Regions from separate parts of the Homo sapiens genome. Here region 1 is linked to region 2. Evidence: promoter capture Hi-C in 16 types of primary human blood cells and fetal thymus (Javierre and others, 2016). All regions are on one chromosome and are shown on one strand. The core of a region is centred on a gene start or on the middle of the fragment in contact, and the rest is flanking DNA. Distances in the headings are between cores, read along the strand shown. Region 1 has its middle 19 kb from the start of ALOX15B. Region 2 holds the start of TMEM256 (transmembrane protein 256).

Region 1 (2,700 bases), core at 126-2,625, 650 kb before region 2:
AATTGAAATATTAGCACCTGTGTCTACCAGTCCTTCAAACTGTTTTCCCTGAATCATTGTGCACACAGGTCTGTTTTTAGAAGCTTGATTTACTCAATAGGCTGCTTTTCCTTCACTGTCAGTACTGCCAAAACCACTTTCTCTTTTTACTGTACTTTTTTCTACTATTACATAAGGTAATAACAACAGCTGAGCAATTCTATCTCCTGGGTTTGCACTCCAAGGAATACTGGAACTAATAACCAATTGAATTTCTCCCACAAAATCTGAATCAATCAGCCCAGTATGAATCTGAACTCCTTTTAAGTTTAGACTAGATGTTCCTAAAACAAGTCCAACTGTCCATCAGGTAAAGGGCCAAATACTCCAGTGGGGACTTTTTGAGGGGATTTCCCTGGAAGCAGAGAGATAGCTTTTGGGAAACATAAATCTAAGCCTGTACTCCCTGCTGTAGCTGGCGCCAATTGTGTTACTGTGGTGGTTGGGCAAGAGACAATGATGGTGGTTGGACTAGAGGCAATGACCGACTGAGGGACCAACTGCTGGAGTGAGAATGCCCCCGTTTGGAGCGGGGCCTGAGGCTGGCCCCTCTTCCTGTTTCCCGACTGCGGTTGTAACGGTTGGCCATTTTTGTCAAATTTGAAGTGACACTGATTAGCCCAATGTTTACCCTTCTGGCACCTGGGACATAAGCCAGGTGGTTCTTTTATTTGATTATATCTTGCCTGTTTGTTCGATTTGTTCTTACGTTCCTTTTTTGTGTGTCCAAATTGCCCACAATTGTAACAATTGCCTGAAAAGTTTTTAATTGGACCTCCCACTTTTAACTCTGTCGTGGCTTGAACCATTATCATAGCCTTATGCATGATTCCACCAACTCCATTACATGCCCTGATATATTCATTAATCACATCAACTCCCACCGGAACCTTTCCTTTCACTGGGTGAATAGCTGACTGGCATTCAGGGTTAGTATTCTCACAAGCCAATAATTCTACAATCACCTTCCTGGCACTTTCTTTCTTTCTTTCTTTTTTTTTTTTTTTTTTTGAGGCGGAGTTTCGCTCTTGTTACCCAGGCTGGAGTGCAGTGGCGTGATCTCGGCTCACCGCAACCTCCGCCTCCTGGGTTCAAGCAATTCTCCTGCCTCAGCCTCCTGAGTAGCTGGGATTACAGACATGTGCCATCACGCCCGGCTAATTTTTATATTTTTAGTAGAGACGGGGTTTCTCCATGTTGGTCAGGCTGGTCTCCAACTCCCGACCTCAGGTGATCCGCCCACCTCGGCCTCCCAAAGTGCTGGGATTACAGGCATGAGCCACCGCACCCGGCCTTCCTGGCACTTTCATCAGTGAGAGCCTTCTGTGCTGCGTCTTGAAGGCGAGCAATGAAATCAGGATATGGTTCCTTTGAGCCTTGTCTAATAGAATTAAAAGACTGATAAGTAGTTCCCAGATCCTGAATTTTCTCCCATGCCCTCAAACAGCAATTGCGAATTTGTTCAATGGCATCATCTCGAAGTCCTGATGGTTGTTTACAGTTCCCCATTGACCCCCTATTCCTAGAAGTTGTTCAAATGTAATGGCAATAGCAGGATTAGCAGCACGGTTTTTTCGATCTTGATTTTGAGCCTCGTCGGTCCACCAAGTCTTAAACTGAAGAAATTGGGAGGGCGAAAGTGTAACTTTCGTTAAAATCTCCCAATCACACGGAGTCAATAGCTTATTCTGAGCCACAGATTGCAATAGCGATCGGATGAAAGGCGAATTGGGACCATACTGACCAACAGCTGCTTTAAGATCTTTGAGCAGCTTAAAAGAAAATGGTTCCCATACCGCTTGATGGGCTCCACCTTGCTGTCGTGGGGGTTGCAAAACTACTGCAAACTGCCAGGCATCAAGATCTCCGGCTAATCTAGCCTGCCGAATAGTAAACTGTAATGGCGATTCATTAACATTAGATGGCAGTGCAGCCTTATGTTGTACTGGTGCTACACCATGCGCTCGTGGTTCCTGAGGCCACAATTCATTCATTCGTGAAACAGGGCAAATTTGAGATTCAGACCTCCAAGGCTCCAAGCTACATTGCTTTATTGGAGGCGGCCACTCCGGATGATCCCAATGAGGAGCCGACTGCTCCTCAAGGCCCTTCTTTGTTTTAAACATCTTGGCATATATGGCTTCTCTATTTTAGGAGCAGCTGAAGGTCCCACGTGCTCCTCAAAAGAAATTAACTCATCTCCAGGTTTGTCTGTATTTTCCTCAAAATCTTCTTCACTATCCTCTCCTCCTTCAGCAGCATCACCACCTTCCTCTGCAGAAATTCTTTCTGCTGGAGGATAAGCCTCATTTTCCGATTGAAACGGTTCCGAGGCTGCTTTAACTATAGCCCAGTTTGACCAGGCTGTTAGGGGGATAAATTTTCCTTCCTTACAAACTTGTTTTAAGGCAATTCCCACCTGTTCCCAATCTTTGAAGTCCATGGTACCATGTTCAGGAAACCAAGGACGATATTGCTCTACTGTTGGAAACAGAGTAATCAAATTTTCTGTGCTAGCCTTAATTCCTGCCCTCTTTAAGAGGAGCTTAATAAAATGTAAATATGCAGAATGTTTACTTTTGGATTGTCCCATGGTGTCCCTGGAATGCTCCGAGTGCACAAGCTTACCGCAAGGCCGACCACACGTTCTCGGGAGTTCCT
Region 2 (2,700 bases), core at 105-2,604:
CGGGGGGCGGGGCCGGGATCCAGTCGATCCCCGGGAAAAGGAGAGCTAGGGGATGGGATCAGGGGGAGCCCGAGAACAGGGAACCCCGCAGTAGGGACGATAGAGAAAGGAGGGGGCAACGGGACAGGACTAGATTGAGGATCCGCTGGTTCCGTGGGCCGGCTTCGAGGGACCAGAAGGCGGTCCAGGCGGAGGATCCTAAGGATCGGGTGCTGGAGGAGGAGTCCACGTTAATCCCCAGGGGCCCGGGGCCCGGGAGCGCAGGATCCGCGGTGCAGGGGCAGGGATCCAGCCGGAATCCTCGGGGAGGGGGAGGGATCTAGTCGATCCCGAGGGCGGGCGTGAGGGGGAGGTCCGGGGAGTCAGAGGAGGGCGGGAGCCGAGTCCAGAGCCCCGGGGCGGGGGTCAGCGCGGATCCTAGGAGGGAAGGCGGGGGTGAGGGGAGGCTTCGAGGGACGCTCAGCAGCCGGGAGGCCCGGACTCCTGGCTCCGCGCGCCAGGGCCGGCCCGCCCCGCGTCCATCCCAGCCCGAGAGTGATGATCCGCCGGCGGAGCAGCCGCAGCAGCCCCGCGCGTCACCGCGCGGCCGCCTCCCCCGCCCCCTGCCGAGAGAGCGGCGCACACCCCCCGCTCGCACCCCCCGCTCGCACCCGCCTGCCCGCCCGCCCTCCGGAGAATGGGGGGATTGGAGATGGTGGGAAGAGGCGGGAGCGGACAGACGGACAGATGGACGTAGCGGGCCAGGGCAGGGTGGAGACATTCCCCCGGATCTCCCACCCTCGGGGCTCTCGCGGTCTCGGAGGGCTGGCGGGGGGGAGAATATCTTAACTACAGGGGGCGGGGCATCATACAAAGAAGGCGGAGCCTTCAGACATGGGGGAGGGGCCATTTGTGCAGTGGGCGGGGTTTACTGGCAATAGGTGGGGCTTTGCTATCTTTCGGGCCGCCTCTTTTTGGTAGTGGGTTTGATTTGAAGCTGAACAGGAGGAGCCTGTGGAAAAAGGGGCGGAACTTTGAGAGAAGACCGGGATCTTTGGAAATTGGCCGGAGCATGGGGGTGGGGGGTTCGAAGAGGCGATCAACTTGGAAAGTGGGCCAATCCTTGACGCAAATCCCCCTAGTCCCGCCCTCAACCCCGCCCCCCCACTGCTTAGCTCCTCTGTTCCTAATTGGTGCTGGTTTCTCCGCCCGCCAGACGTCTTCGCCACTCTGCAGCGGTTTTACAAAGGCGGGTGAAGAGCGCAATGCTGAAATGAACACGGCCCGGATTGGGCGCCTGTGAACCTTATTTGCATGGGCGGTCGGGATTGGCTGGCCTCTTGGGTGGCCTGGGCGGCGTTGGTCCGGTGCGTCCTGTTCTACAGCTATGGCCGGGCCAGCTGCAGCTTTCCGCCGCTTGGGCGCCTTGTCCGGAGCTGCGGCCTTAGGCTTCGCTTCCTACGGGGCGCACGGTCAGGGGGCTGGGGACGAAGATGGGACTGTACTTGGGGCGTCCTCTGGGGTCTGCTGCAAGGGCGTAACCTATGGGAGGTGCCCGGCCTCTCGTTTATCAGACAGTCCGCGGAGCCCTAAACCTTTTAAAGTCCCCCAGCTGGGTCCAATTGGTTCCCAGTACTGCCCGAGCGTGTTCCCACCAATCGGAAGCTTCCTGGGGCGGGGGGGGGGGTGCCCTTTCTCGCCAATGTCCACCTGGGTCCCCCCGGATTGGGGGCGGTCAGGGCTGGCACTAGGACCGCTAACCTTTGCTTCTTTTCTCCACAGGCGCCCAATTCCCAGATGCCTACGGGAAGGAGGTGAAGTAACTGCGCTGGGGCTCCCTGACTCGTGGGTCTACGAAGGCACAAAGTCTGGGGTCCCTGGGGGAAGTGGGCGGGGAGAGGGTGGGGCGAGCCGCGGATCTCTGGAGCAGCAAAGGCCAAAGGCTCTGTAAGCCAAAGGCCTGGGATCAAGCTGGGACTTCAAGGGTGGGGTGGGGGAAGGAACTTTGGTCCCTTGTGTCATCAGGGGATCTCAGTACCTGTATTGCCTACGACATCCCTTCGTTTCTGTTTTTCTTACAGCTGTTTGACAAGGCCAACAAACACCACTTCTTACACAGCCTGGCCCTGTTAGGGGTGCCCCATTGCAGAAAGCCACTCTGGGTAATCTTTCCCTGCGCCTAACCCTGACCAAGCCCCACACACTCCCTCTCAGCCTGCCCTGTTCTTAACAATCCTGTTTTCTGTGCTGTGTCTCCTTCAGGCTGGGTTATTGCTAGCTTCCGGAACGACCTTATTCTGCACCAGCTTTTACTACCAGGCTCTGAGTGGAGACCCCAGCATCCAGACTTTGGCCCCTGCGGGAGGGACCCTGCTACTCTTGGGCTGGCTTGCCTTGGCTCTTTGAGCTCCCTTTTGCTTAATTACTGGGTTTTCTGGGCAGTTTTTTTTTTAAAGAGTTGGAGTAAGAAGAGGATTAAAAAGGAAAGGCAAATAAACTTTGGAGTCTTTGTTCATCTAACCTCTTGGAGGACGAAGGGTGGGGATTCAACCTCTGAACTCCCTCCATTTCCTAAGACTTAATCAGTGAGCCTTAGGTCTGGGGATTCTGGTCACTTTAAGTTAACTTATTATAATGTTCTTACCCTGGTGGGCATCAAAGTCATAAAGAATGCTTGAAATAACACAGATTCCTACTGAAGCACTCTTTCGGGCCTGAGAA

What was found. The method cuts DNA at HindIII sites, captures the fragments that hold promoters and counts their contacts. A CHiCAGO score of 5 or more calls a contact.
Region 1: a fragment that was not itself captured here is called in contact with the fragment with the promoter of TMEM256 in region 2 in 1 of 17 cell types (activated CD4 T cells); the score reaches 5.7 in activated CD4 T cells.

What each region holds. Positions count from the first base shown.
Region 1 is chr17:8,057,116-8,059,815 of GRCh38, reverse strand. No RefSeq gene overlaps it. Among named protein-coding and RNA genes, the nearest start is that of ALOX15B, 19 kb to the right of the region's middle. RefSeq lists enhancers at 2,069-2,138, 1,622-2,139. The HindIII fragment of the contact is 2,579 bases long and covers 86-2,664 here.
Region 2 is chr17:7,402,751-7,405,450 of GRCh38, reverse strand. TMEM256 (transmembrane protein 256) reads left to right here and starts at 1,354. Exons shown (of 4, transcript NM_152766.5): 1 at 1,354-1,451; 2 at 1,762-1,793; 3 at 2,061-2,141; 4 at 2,242-2,476. The coding sequence starts at 1,367. The coding sequence ends at 2,385. It overlaps TMEM256-PLSCR3 (TMEM256-PLSCR3 readthrough (NMD candidate)), which reads left to right and starts at 1,320. Exons shown (of 10, transcript NR_037719.1): 1 at 1,320-1,451; 2 at 1,762-1,793. It also overlaps a transcript of NLGN2 not described here. RefSeq lists a silencer at 546-875 and an enhancer at 1,366-1,545. The HindIII fragment of the contact is 6,317 bases long and covers 1-1,646 here.